Linked DNA regions of Homo sapiens: region 1 is linked to region 2. Evidence: promoter capture Hi-C in 16 types of primary human blood cells and fetal thymus (Javierre and others, 2016). All regions are on one chromosome and are shown on one strand. Each heading gives the region's core, a stretch centred on a gene start or on the middle of the fragment in contact. The rest is flanking DNA. Distances are from core to core; before and after follow the strand shown. Region 1 has its middle 91 kb from the start of GAB4. Region 2 holds the start of XKR3 (XK related 3).

Region 1 (7,306 bases), core at 2,154-4,653, 91 kb after region 2:
TAATGATATAATCATGTGAAAAGAATGCATTTCTGTATTTTTTGAAACCTTTTCTTTTGAAAACATAGTAATACATTTCTACTCTAAAATAGAACTTAGCCTAAATACTTTCAAAACCTTTAGAATTTGGAAAAGAAATAAAAATCTCACATAATTCTGAATGTTCCCTTTTTTACTTGAAATAAACTTTATATTTTCCATCTTTGAGTTCCTGCAGTTTATTTTCAAAGGCCACTTTTGGAATTGTGAAAACTCTGCTTTCACTTGGCAAATAATAATTAAGAGTAATCAATCTTTTAACATTAAGATCTCATACCTGCCATGAGTTTACAAAGTCTATTTGAATAATCCAACATCAAACATTTTTTCTAAGTGTTAGCTGTACTCCCCTGCACACAGCTTGTGTAGAATGCTTCTACCTGTAAGACACTGGAGAGACGGTTTGGTGGGAGTCAGAGAGCAGAATTAGGAAGATGGGAGAGTATGAATTTCCCAATATGACTAAGTGTCATCGCGTGTGAAATAAACCCCAAGATGGTCATTTCCCATATGTGTTCTACTTGTGTTGTCACTAAACTGCATCCATGGTCTGGTTATTCTGACAGTTACATGAACTTGACAAATGTGGGCAAGACAGGGAGGGTGAGGATGTGAGCTTTCATTCACTCTCCCTTCATCATAGCTGGTTGCTCCCAGGGCACGTAGCCCCCATGAATTCTCCTCCTCCTGATGCCTTCCCCAGGCTGTGACTGCTGGTGGGGCCTTAACATATGAAATCTGAGGTGCTACTGAGGCTGTCATGGACCAGCGTCCTCAGCAGCAAACCTTGCCCTGACATCCCCAACAGCCTTCTCCTCTGCAGACTCAAAGACTCTGCTCAGCTGTTCCCTCAGACAAGCAGCCCATGCGGGCAGCTGGGTCAACCCAGCAGGGAGGTTTCTGTTCGAGGATGTAGCACTGTGGGCGGAGTTTGTAGAGCTTGCATGCAGTAATAAACCCCAACATCCTAAGCCTCCACCCTACTGATTTTCAGAGTGAAATCAGTGCCTGACCCACTGCCACTGAACCTGTCTGGAACTCCAGAGGCCCGGTTGGAAACCTCATAGATCAGGAGCTGTGGAGACTGGCCTGGCTTCTGCAGGTACCAATTCAAATAGGTGTATTCATCATCAGTATCCAAGAGGCTCTCACTAGATCTGCAGGAGATGGAGGCTGGCTCTCCAGGAGTGACAGGCAGGGAGAGTGGAGTCTGGGTCATCACAATGTCCCCACTGGATCCTGAAATAATAACAGAGAAGTGCAAGGTTATATAAACACATTTTGAGCAACTTTCATGATTTTCCTTAAGATTTTGATTTAGAGTTACATATTTTTTCAAGTTTTGATTTTTATCATGAAAAGTAGACTTTCTAAAATGAACCAATTTGTTACTAGCCAGCAGGGAGCAGTTTATTTTCAAGAGCTTAATCAGAGCACTGGTCATTTTTCCTGGGAGATGATTCCTGACTATTCCTGAGACAAAAAATACGAGTAATCTTTCCCGGAGCACAGACCATGTGCCCGTAACACATGGTTGAAATAAAAATAGGAAGCTGTGGAGACCCCAGATCTCACCCTCCCACCCCATTTTCTCACCTCACTTTTGATCCTATCCTTACCAGAGACCCAGAGCATTAGCAGCCCCAGGAGCTGAGCAGGGAGCCTCATTGTGAGAAGGTGAACTGAGGAGTCCTGATCAGTCAAGGCAAGGTTAGAGCTGAGCTTTTATCTCAGACTCACAAGGGAAGGTCCTCCCTAAGGGACAACATGCAAATCACCTGGTGGGTGCAGTGGTGTGGAAAAGGTTGATGGGGCAGGGGGAATGTCTCTTCTGTGAACAATGTGACATAAAATGTTTGCTGGAGCCAAACAAATGTAGTTCAAGTCAAGTTTGCCTGTGGTCAAGGGAAGAAGGCTCTGACTGTGGAAGTTGGGACCTTGGGCAGGGACACATTGTGCAGTGCATGCCACACTGAGAACGCACAAGGACCCTGACAACGTGGAAATGTGTTTCTAGGATGCATCTTTGGGAGGTGAATGCCATCCTGCAGGCCTCCCTCCCAATCAATCTAGAGAAAGAAAACAGCCCCATTCCCACAAGCACAGACGGGCAGAGGGCCTGCAAATGAAAAGTGCTCCTGAGCCAGTTCAAGTGTTGCCTCGTATGTGCTGTTTCCAGGATAACTGTTCAATATTATTCAGTGCAAGTGTTAGAATCTCCCCGTCCCTGGCACCTGATGAGTGAGCCCCAAAAAAGCGCTCCGTCCAAGGGCCTCACAGGGAGAATGATGTGGGTCTCTACATTTAGAGCCAAGAGCCCAGCATAAGTAAGAGGCAATGGGGCAAGAATGTTACACCTCAGGCAGTGAATACAAAATTCCTGGTGACCAACTGTTCAATCTGGGATAATCGCATCATAATCATCTCACATATACAAGATTAACCAGCAGGATCTCATAGGGAAGAATTTCCTTGGTTAATGATACAAAGCAAATAAGAAATAACATTGCATGATGTTTTTCTGAGTGGTGCTTACGAAAACTCTTCTCACACAGCCTCCCTGGTCATGTGGCATCAGGTCCTGTGAGGGCTTCCAGGTTATGGCCAACCCTGAGTGAGACCTGAGTCACCCCCAGCCTGGATGTGGTGCAGCCACAGCCATGAGTCTGCAGTTGAAAAGGAAATTGTCTATGTGAGAAGAGCAAGGACTGCATCTACAGTTTTATGTCTCAGGGTAACCTGGACCTGTAACTGACATTTTCATGGTTTCATGTAAAGATGCACATGGTTCAGGGGTGTGAGTCTTTCACACAGCTGATCATTACAAAGGGAAACAATCTCATGTTTCTTGATTTGTTCGTGGTGTGCTTAGTATTTAATTGAACAGCTCCTGAATAATTCTGCCAACACCAAACACTATCACAAAGACAGTCACATTTCTGGGAAAAAAAAATTCAGCTACAACTGAAAGACTAGCTTGTAGTGCTATGTAATCTTGGGTAATTTAACAAAAATTTATATTTAATTGCCCAAGAACACAAATACATGAAATTCTAGGTAAGATTCCAGAAGAAAGCTTGGTTTCAATATCTTCTGAGAAATCTACCAAAATAACCTTTTTTCCAAGATTGGAAAAGATAATTGAATAAAAATAATATTATAGACCTTTCAATGTTTAACACCATTGCAATAATGGGGGTTAAGGAGATCAAATTGTGCTTAAGAAATTTGATTAAAGGCTCACAGTAAACTGTAGAAAACTATGTCAATTTTATTTACTCTTTTCTCATTAAATTTCGTAACTTTTGTGCACTTGACTTTTTCTTATGTTATTAACCAATTCAAACCTGCTTCTTATTCTTCAAAAAGTGAGACTCCTAAATAATCATACTAGTGAACAATAGAAACATCAGAGGCTGAAGGAAAAGAAAAAGAAAACACAATCAGCCTAACTAAAGTAGAACGAGATGGTGCATCATATTGTAAGTTTTAAATAATTATTCTGAAAGGGTATTAAATGAGGAATCAGTTCTATCTATAATTAAAAACAAACTTGAATTGCAGGGAAGTGACTAACAATAAAAAAATTTGTCAGGTTTTCTTTTACTAAAGGTCAATTCTTGAAAATGTTGTTTTTGCAAAGTATTCCTTAAGAAGCTTGAATTTAAGATAGTCTTGCTATTTCCTATGAAACTTAGTAATACATCGTTAAGAAGGTTACCATTGTGATTTTTAAAAATCTCATGATCTGTTGCTGTACATAAATATAAATTGTGAAATTTTGTAGAAATCTTTTTTAGTCAGAAAAGAGCTTTGAAATTACTCTTTATTACCTATAGACTTAAAGGATAATATTACTAATTCTGATTAGAAACCTCCCTTTCTTATCTGTTGACACATTATGCCAAGGCTTTCACAACAGCAGACAAAGCTGGTCACTCCACAGTGGACACAGATCAGAAGGTGTCACAACCACCTCCATTCGGATCTAGGTGTGCGGCAGGCCTCTGCCTCTGAGTGTCTCTAACATGAACCATGGTCACCTGAATGAGGGAGGACTTATACAGGTGGGGTTTATTATGGCTGTGTCTCCTTTTCCTGATGCGGTTAGTTTGGGGTCCATAAAACTGGGAGCAACTGCATTATTCGTAAGACTTGGCAAGAGTCTTAGAAGTGGAACTGTTTGTGTTCATGACCCTGGAGTCAGTGTTTGGGGTGGACACTGTGATCCGATTTGTACGGGATTGGAATGACTTGCGGGCTCATCAAGGAAAAAGAGATGGCCACAGGGGGGCAGTCGCACACATGACTTTATTGGGTGACGTTTTGTCAGGTTTGCAGAGAGAAGCCCCTCCCAGCAGGAATCTGTGCAGAGAATAAGCTGCCAGGCTTGCTTCTCGAAACGATGGGACACTGGACAAGGGGCTGTGTGTCTAGGGGACGCCTCACAGCAGCACAGTGGGGAGTTTCTGGTTTAAGGTTTTCATAACTGGGGTTTATCTTACTGCGAGTAGATGTGGTTGAAATTTTCTGGACATGCAAAGTAAGTATTTTCTAAAAGGCTAAAAGTATTCTTCTTTGGGCTGTTGTTAAAATAATTGCATTGTAAAATTTGAGTTTGGAACAGGCCATTAGGAAGTAAACACAGTTTTGGCCGGGCCCGGTGGCTCACGCCTGTAATCCCAGCACTTTGGGAGGCCAAGGTGTGCGGATCACAAGGTCAGGAGTTGGAGACCAGCCTGACCAACATGGTGAAACCGCGTCTCTACTAAAAATACAAAAATTAGCTTGGCATGGTGGCACGTGCCTGTAGTCCCAGCTACTCGGGAGGCTGAGGCAGGAGAATTGCTTGAACCCGTGAGGCGGAGGTTGCATTGAGCCAAGATCACGCCATTGCACTCCAGCCTGGTTGACAGAGTGAGACTCCGTCTCAAAAAAAAAAGAAGTAAACACAGTTTTGAAATAAACAACATGGGGGCCAGGACCCACAGGCCATCTTTAGCTCATTTCTATGTCACTGTTTCTAATTCTGTAGACTTTGTTCTACAGACGGCATTAGTCCATATTTTCCAAACCAACACTACCATGGATGAGGTTGAGTAACACAGAGGCCTGTTCCCCACTTGGGGCACAATGAAGGTTCTTTTTGTTAAAGGGGAGAGTTTATCTTTGCATGCAAGCCACCCACTGAGCATCCCTTCGTGAAGCTGCAGGTCCTGTGACTGGATTCCTGGCTGCAAGGCACCGGGGGTTGAAGCTGTCTGCATTATCTCACTAACTGTAAATTGTCACTCACTGGAGAATATATTCACAGATAAATATTCTGGAACACAGACAGCTCAGGGAATGAAGGCTTCATGAATGTGTATCTTCTGCTTCTGAGAATTCATCTCTCCGGCACTGGAAGAAACAGGGTTGTTCATATGTTGTACCTTCAGACCGTGTTCTAGACCTGTCTAAGCTGACCCTGTTTCCAAATATTTGAGTTATTGTTCTTTACTTTTCCTTGGAAAAAATGTTTAGAAATCCTATAAAACTATATACACAGCTGTGGGAATAAGTGGTGAGTTTTTCCTCTGTGCTTGCTAATCTTTCTGCAGGGCCCACCTCACCTACCAACAAACTGCAGAAAGGGAAGCAATGATTCTCTTTCCTTCCTGAGCATTCTGTGTCCACGTCACTTCAATCTCTGTCTCTGTCTTCAAATCACCTTCTCTTCTGCAGTCTTTGTTAAATGTCTGCCTATCTATCTTATAAGGACAATCGTGATGTCCTTATAAGATAGAGATAGGCAGACATTTTAACAAAGCCTTTTTATTGACCCACCTGGACCAGGGCCCATCTGGTCAATACAGGATGATCTGCCCATTTCATAATCCTTAACTTTCATGTCCGATTAAATTCTGATGAGAAAGCAAAATGGGCTAAAAACTTCATCCTGAAGGAAACATTCATGTTTAATGCACAGGAACTGCAGATGAAGCCTGAGTTCTCCCTCCTCACCAGAGAGTTGGAAAAGCAGGAGGAAGAGGAGCAAAGCTGGGTCCCCGCCTCCATGAGGGCCTCCTAAGGCTGCTCCTGCTCACAGAGGGTGGGGAAGGTGGATAGTCAGCTTGCGCTGCCACACCAAAAACACTGATCTGGATGACATAAACCACAGAATTTAATTTTCATGTTTCACATTTTTGGTGCCCAGATCAATGTCCAGCAGGGTTCGCTTTCTGGTAAAGACCTTCTTCCGGGTTTGCAGATGCCACCTGGGCTATGACCTGATAAATATCTATATACATTTTGCCATGCAACTTTTAAACATAACAGAAATGACACATTGGAATTTTAATTGTACTTACTACGGAATCCATTATCTTTTTTTTTTTTTTTTTTTGAGACGGAGTCTCGCTCTGTCGCCCAGGCCGGACTGCGGACTGCAGTGGTGCAATCTCGGCTCACTGCAAGCTCCGCTTCCCGGGTTCACGCCATTCTCCTGCCTCAGCCTCCTGAGTAGCTGGGACTACAGGCGCCCGCCACTGCGCCCGGCTAATTTTTTGTATTTTTAGTAGGGACGGGGTTTCACCTTGTTAGCCAGGATGGTCTCGATCTCCTGACCTCATGATCCACCCGCCTCGGCCTCCCAAAGTGCTGGGATTACAGGCGTGAGCCACCGCGCCCGGCCGAATCCATTATCTTAAAATAAATCATCTCAAGTATAATTTAAGCCCTTAGCCTGCATCGGGATCTTGTTCTATTAATTCAATCAGTCTTATGTGTCTCTGCACCGTATTATCACAGGTAACAGACATCACTCATTACTCGGAGTCATACAAATGGATTTGGCAGAAAAATCGGATCATGGATGCAGACTAGTGGCAACACAAGTGAAATACATGTTAGAAATGACTCGTTTGGAAATAGTTTTCTACATGTTAGCACTTGGTCATATTGGGAAATTGCCATCTTCCTAGTTTGGAAACTTTCTCTCTCATTTACCACTCACATGAAACTGCCCGCTCTAGCATTATGGTGGAGAAAGCACTATTGCTTTTGTAACAGAAAGCATTTCTGTTAGGTTTTAAAGTTGCATGGCAAAATGTATATAGATATTTATCACACTGCAGCCCTCAAATTAAAAAAGCAGATAAATTTAGTGCACTATTGTCAATGAAATCTATTAAAAGAGACGATTCAAATACATTTTCAGGAAAAAATAGTGTCATGTAAAAATAATGCATTTTTTCATTTTTTAAATCATTTTCTTATGACAGCATAG
Region 2 (7,280 bases), core at 192-2,691:
CTTGCTTGTTGGAGTGATGAGACAAATGGTCCAAAAATTAAAAAACAAAACAAAACAACAACAACAACAAAATAATTTGTTGCTTGCAAATAGGCCCTAGAAGCAATATGAAACAGTCTTCAAATGAATAGATGAGAAAAATCGCATCTGACCTAATTAATTCAATGTCACAAAAAGAGAGACAATGTGTTATTTAAAGGGATGAGACAGAAAAAACACTCTTGTAAATAAAGAGAGAAGAGTACAATGAAGTACCCATTTCCACCTACGAGGAACGGGCATGTAAGAAAATACGGGAATCATGTGCAGATGATATAATTACTTATCTAGAGGCACCATAAAAATGTTTTTCCCCAAATAATGTCCATTAGGGATAAAATTTTAAGAAAGAAAGGATGTTACTTTTAAAGACAATTGTTAAATACCTAGTAAATAGAGTAAGTGAGTAAGAAAAGCAGAAAGAAAATAAGTTGCAGCTACCAGATACCCACAAAAAGAAAGAAAAGGGAAAAAGAAGGAATGGAGGGAGAGAGCACAAATGGAAAGAAAAAGGGTGGGAAGGAGGAGGGAGAGTAGAGAGAGAAATTACAGAAGTAGGCGAGGGGTATAAAGGAAAGCATGGAAAGACAACTGCAGAGACATCAGAGTTTCTGGGCCTCAGGATAGGGGAAAAATACATCCAACATTATAAGAAATATATCCCACTCTCTCCCCAGCAATCCATACATCGAATATGATATTAATGCAGATTGCACCTTTCTGGCTGCCCCAACCACTTCCTTCTCCTTTGGACTCACAGAAGGACCTCTATAATTTATTTCTGGAAAACACTTATGAAAATATGCACATATGAAAAGGGCCACAGAGTTTAGAAATGGGTCTTCCAGAGTCTAAAATTCAAGGTAGAAAGTGAAAGTGAAGTCACTGAACAATGGAATTTAGGCATGTGTTTGTGATTAAGTGAACTTGTTTCTTGTACTCACATAGCCAGTGCATCACTGCATCTGAATAACAAAAAATATGGTAGATTTCTGCCCCTTTGAGATTTCACTTAAATACGAAGCACTTTCTCCTTCTGATGTTTAAAAACATGCTGAAATTTGTAATATATTAGTAACAACCACTGTCCCACCCAAATGCTAAGCAGCTGCTTCTCTTCTCTGAAAATCAGAATCAAGAGAGGGAGTTTCTAGGCTCAAGACTCGGGAAAAGCCACCCCTGATATCCAGAGATTTATGTTAAGATCCCCAGCTGAGACAGGCAGAGGTCAAGGTAGGCTGAAGAAGCTGATCTGAGATGGTCGAGGGCTGCTCCTACTTACCTTGCCTATTTGCCACCCTCACAGTTTTGAAACTCGTTCAAAAAGTAAATGCTTTTGTTCACCTCTTTAACAGCACCATTTCTGGTCTCGTTTTCAACACTACGTCCTTTGCTTTGCAGGTAAAATTGCTTATTTTCTTGCCTTTTTATGACTAAAGTAGGCTTGCAGTTTGGAGTCAGGTGACTGCACTAGCTGAGTCATCTTCCCTTGAAAACACCAAGGCATTCTTCCTCCCTACAGAGTCACACATCTTAGTTCCCCAAAACGCTCAGCCACAATTTGACTTCGATTGTCCTACATTTAAGGTGATATTTTTCTGATTCTCCCATTAACTCCCTCTTCTCTTCGCACCCATGGCCCATCTTTTGCTGCTGTCTAGTAGCCATTCATCCCCTCCCATCACAAAAGAAGTCTGTACTTCCTTCAGACAGAGCAACAAGAAAATTCCCCAGAAAGCAAACAATTAAACAAATTTTAATTTTGCCTTTTTTAAATGAAAATTCTGTCAAAATTGATGAACCACATCTGGTAGGAGCACCTGTTTTATTTTCACAAAGAGTTTTCTGATCTGGACATTTTTGTTACTTACTGCTAATATGGAAAATTTTGAACTAAACAAAATACACCCCCAAAACTTAAACTATGTTAAACCAAGACAAGCTTCTAACAATGACACCTCTTTCCAGTATGAGAGAACTGCCTCCTACAGTATAAGAAATATCAAAATCATTATTTTTTTATTCCACACATATTCAACACTTAAAGCCAAGGCATTAGAATTTTAATATACCACCTCTCAAGCATGAACATATAAAAATTCTTACTGTAAATGGGGCATGATTATTTTTCAAAGAGAAGAAATATTTTATTCAATTCTAAGATTAATTCACAAATTTGACTCCTGTTTTATAATGATAACTTTACGTTGCAGGACACAGAGATTATTCCTTAAGAAATATTTTTTAAATAGATATTTGGCTCTTGGAACCAAATAATAAAATTTTCTGCTTAGACATACATACAAATTTACTTTACTTAAAACACTTTCTTGTTATTATTACATTTTTAAATCTCCCACTCTTTGGGATCTCCTTATAAGTAGGTCACTTGCTTTTAAAATCTTACATAATTAACATGTCAGATATTTACAGACATACCAAATGAAAGTATTATTTATTCTATGATATGAATAAAAAATGTTTTGAATAGATACATACATGAATAACTTTTTATTCTGAAATCTAATCAGTTTTATTCATATTTGATTTTATTTTAATTTTTTAAGGTATGTTTCACATAATACAAAATTACATTATTCAAAATTATATTATTAAAACATTTCTATCATCAAACAGGAAACCCCATTATCTACTTAACAGTTCTTTCTATTCCCCAGCCCCTGACAACCATTAACCTACCTTTTGTCTATATGGCCATGTCTTTTTACCATATATGTTTTACACTGCATCAGTTTTCAATCCAACATGCCAAGCTGAGAGAGTTTTTAAAATATTTATTTTTATTTTTTTGCACCGTCCAATTACCAGGCCCTATGCTCCTCGCACCAATCTAGTAAGACTGTGTGTGTCAAGGAGAAAATTATGTTTATTTCAGGGATTGAGGATATTAATTAATTTATTTATTTATTTATTTATTTATTTATTTATTATTTTCTTAAGACAGAGTCTTGCTCTGTTGCCCAGGCTGGAGTGCAGTGGCACAATCTCAGCTCACTGCAGCTTCCGCCTCCTGGGTTCAAACGATTCTTCTGCCTCAGCCTCCCGAGACCTGGGACTACAGGCACATGGACCACACCTGGCTAATTTTTGTATTTTTAGTAGAGACAGGGTGTCACCATGGTGGTCAGGCTGGTCTCGAACTCATGACCTCATGATCCGCCTGTCCCGGCCTCCCAAAGCGCTGGGATTGCAGGCATGAGCCACCATGCCTGGCCCTCCTTATTAATTTAAAAGATTCTGCAGGCATGAAACTTTTGCAGAATAAACTGTGTAAGTAATCATTCTATATTTTATTTTTACCAGATACATTTCTGAGACTGGAAAGTAAACAGTCTTGGCCAAATTTTTATGTTTGTTGCTAGGTGACCAAAGTCCTCTTGTGATGCCATTGCTACTCAGGTTGGAAACCACTGTGGTGATCTCAATTACTTTACCTGAGTAGACTACTGAAGCAGCATTTGAAGCTGCAGTCTTGAAACACATGCAGGCTGGAAAAGTCGCTAAAGAATTACTTATTTGAGATGGCACATGTTTCTGCAGAAACTCAAGATGTTTCTCCTAAAGATGAATCAACTGGTTCAAAAGCCTCCTCTGGGTCTCCATTGTGTGAACACATAATCCCTGGGGATTCAGACTTAAGGTCAATGACTGAATCAATGATTTTCAGGTTTTGCCACAAGGATCCTTGATAAAAAGGCCACATTATACTTTATGTCTCTGAGCCAGATAAAGATAATGATTTTCCTTCTCTGACCTTTCCCAGTAAACTTTGGAAAATAGCTGAAAGTGACCAATTCAAGTCTAATTCATAGGATAAGAATGAAACTTGCATAGTGACTAATGAAGAACTCTTCAAGAAAGAAAATTTGGAAATAAAGGCTCCTTACAGAATATTTCAAACTGACAGTATGAAAATCTTAATTTGACAGCTCAACCTTTATGGATTTAGTAAAATTCAACAGAATTTTCACAGATCTGCTTTTCTAGCCAACTTTCTGGCAGAAGAAAAAGAAATTTCTGTTTTAAGCAAGGTATTCAAAATATTTCAGTTACCACTTTGAGTATATATGTAATTTCATTTTATATATCAGTAACTATGTTAATACATGCAGTAAGATCAGATTTTAAAAATTATATCAAATATTAAGGTAAAAATTACTTAATTTTTTTGAAATTATTGAGTGCAGGTTGAGCATTAAACTTTCAGGTTTTAAGAAATGTTGCTAACAACATTCAGTCTTACCAGTGAACTCCAAATAAAGATACCAAAGCCACTTAGTGAAATGTTACTATTAAATGTATAACATGTTTTCACCAGAGGGCTTCAAAACTTGAGTGTTTTTTTTTCTCAACAAGCATGTTCTTAAAAATAGTAAACAATGTTCATTCATTATTTGATGATATTAACTTTGTGTGATAAAACAGAAATCTGAGATTGTATGGGTTATGTTTGTTATTGTTACTTGCCTCTTGGTTTAAAATGGCACTGAATTACCTTCTCCTTGGTTTTAGTTAAAGTTGTATTATCATCCGAATTTCAAACGTGGCTGTCCCCAACTTTTAATAAGAACGAAAAGAAGAATTAAGATTAAAAACACTTCTCTTGTATCTACTTCACTGAATATTTCAAGAAACACTTTAGAGCAGGGGCTAACACAGATAAACATAATTCTGTCTTAGCTGCTGAAACTAGTGAAGAAAGTTCATTTTCAACATCTACAAATTTAAATATGACTCTAACAAGGAAATCTTCTGTCAGCCAGGGCATTGCTGGTTCACCTGACCCAATTAGAAGTGGTTTCCCTCCTCTTCCATTTCAACCTCAGTTGGACAATCAGAACAAATTACAACAAATCAACATGCTATTTTAAATCAATTGACAAATATTCATATGCACTCTCATAGCACCGACATGTAAGCAAATGGCCACGTTGTGAATTTTGTTACAACCACAGCTTCTCAATACTACATCATATCTCCCTCCTTTGGGGCTGATAGTGAAACCACCTACTTTTTCCCACCAGATATCCTGAGGTATTAGCCAATGAGGCTCCTCATTCTAACCTGCTACCAGCAGGCAACCTGTGGTTGTAAATGACTGCGACAGCTGATACATCAGTTGCCTTTCGTTACAGGCCAGCTCTTCAACCATCTTTACTGGAAAAATATCACCCTAGTTACAACTGATCTTCCACCAAAAGAGTACCAGATTATGCATGACAACAGAGACTGAAATTTATGTTGACAAGAACATTAAAAATTCCTGCAATAATCTTACTGAACAATAAAATTACATGTTGACCTTTATGGTTGCTTTTCCTTTATTTCTAAAAATACAGTTAGGAGTAAAATGGGGCTTTGTTTTAGTGGCAGGCTACTGTACCGCATTTAAAAAAAAATATGTGCTTTTTTATCATTTGATGGGAAATTTGACATGGCCCTTTGTAAGCTAGTTTATTTAATTATCTAAAGAGGAAGAAATAATAGAGTGTTTTAGTCCATTTGCTGCTGCGACAACACAATACCACTGACTGGGTAATTTGTAAGGTGACTTATTTTGCTCATTATTCTGAAGGCTGGAAAGTCCAAGGGGCTGCATCTGGTGAGATCTTCTTTCTATGTTGCAACATGGCAGGAGGCCATCCTACGGTAAAGGACATGTGATAAACAGAAAATCAGGGCCAAACTCATCCTTGGTTCCAAAGCCCACTCACACAATAACTAGCCTGTTCGCCAGATAATGCTATCAATCCCGCCATGAGGGTGCACACTCACGATTTTATGGTTTCTAAGTCCACAGTCAACGTTGGCTAATTCACATACATATGTTTATATATCAAAACCATGGCAGCAGGCAAGGGAAAAAGAAGGAATTGGAGTTAGAAAAGAGTAATAACTGACTTCTCAAGTAGTCTGGCATAAATCAAATGAGGGCCTAAATTACAATGGCACAAAAAGAATAGATATGCACACACACACGCACACACAGAAAATCTAGAGAAACATTAACACACACTATATACTTCAGTATTTTCTCACTTTTTCTCAGTTATTTTAAACTTGGATTTTAGTTGGCAAAGATTTTCTTCATTACAATTCATACCTAGCGAGCTCAGTAACCATGATCACAATTATTTGTGTCCTCACTTGCGCAATAAACTTCACATATTTTACTCATGGATTGTATCACTGTAGGCACATGGTAGAATTTTATAGCTGGCATTATCAATAGACCTTTTTGATCTTCCATCAAAGCTTGTGGCTTTAATTACTTCCTGTAAGAGTCCACCTTTCATGTTTTCTAATGCACATTTTCCTTCTTTTCTTTTGAGACAGAGTCTTGCTGTGTTGCCCAGGTTGGAGTGCAGTGGCATAATCTCAGCTCACTGCATCCTCAACCTCTGAGTTCAAGCAATTCTGTGCCTTAACCTCCTGAGTAGGTAGGATTAGATGTGCACCCACACCGTGCAAAATTTTGTATGTTTAGTAGAGATGGGGTTTCACCATGTTAGCCAGGCTGGTCTTGAACTCCTCACCTCAGGTGACCCACCCACCTCAGCCTCCAAAAGTGCTGGGATTACAGGCTTGAGCCATGACACCCGGCCTCTAAATGCACATTTTCATCACACTGGTTTCATGCTCCATCCAAAATCTGATTTAAATTCTTTTGTTGGCATTTAATACTTTCTAGATTCTGAGCCTATATCCCCAGCATAACTGAACAAATCCCTTCAAGACCTGATATTTGTCTGCCTTGCAGCTTCATGTGTTTCTGTTTCATCACCGTCCTATTTGAAGCAACATTCAGGCAACTCCACTTTCAGCCATGCCTTTTATCATCTGGTAACTTTGCCCCCATTTCTTTCCTGGAGATAAAAACTCTCTCCCTCTTTGCCTACTTAAGACTCCTATAGCACAGACATCACTTCTTCCAGGAGGTGCTTCTTATCTATCAGATTAGTTTTCTCGTCTGTCTTGGACACTCAGTACTGATGTAACACAGTACCTGATGTATGTATGTATGTGTATTAGTCAATGATGACTGTGGACTTAAAACCATAAAATCTATCTTTATTGTCAAAAACAAACATTCCTGGTGTTGCGGCATTACACTTTACTCTTCGTTCTTCACCAGAACTTTTCTTTAGAGGTTAGGTCACAGTAGTGTTCATTAGAGAGGCAATAATTTTGACTTACTAAAACTACTATCACTGTTTATC

Evidence for each region. The method cuts DNA at HindIII sites, captures the fragments that hold promoters and counts their contacts. A CHiCAGO score of 5 or more calls a contact.
Region 1: a fragment that was not itself captured here is called in contact with the fragment with the promoter of XKR3 in region 2 in 2 of 17 cell types (naive B cells and total B cells); the score reaches 6.0 in naive B cells.

Annotation. Positions count from the first base shown.
Region 1 is chr22:16,913,273-16,920,578 of GRCh38, forward strand. It overlaps the pseudogene IGKV2OR22-4. Among named protein-coding and RNA genes, the nearest start is that of GAB4, 91 kb to the right of the region's middle. RefSeq lists a silencer at 4,386-4,435. The HindIII fragment of the contact is 581 bases long and covers 3,114-3,694 here.
Region 2 is chr22:16,823,970-16,831,249 of GRCh38, forward strand. XKR3 (XK related 3) reads right to left here and starts at 1,442. Exons shown (of 4, transcript NM_001386955.1): 1 at 1,322-1,442. It also overlaps the pseudogene HSFY1P1. The HindIII fragment of the contact is 7,309 bases long and covers 1-1,979 here.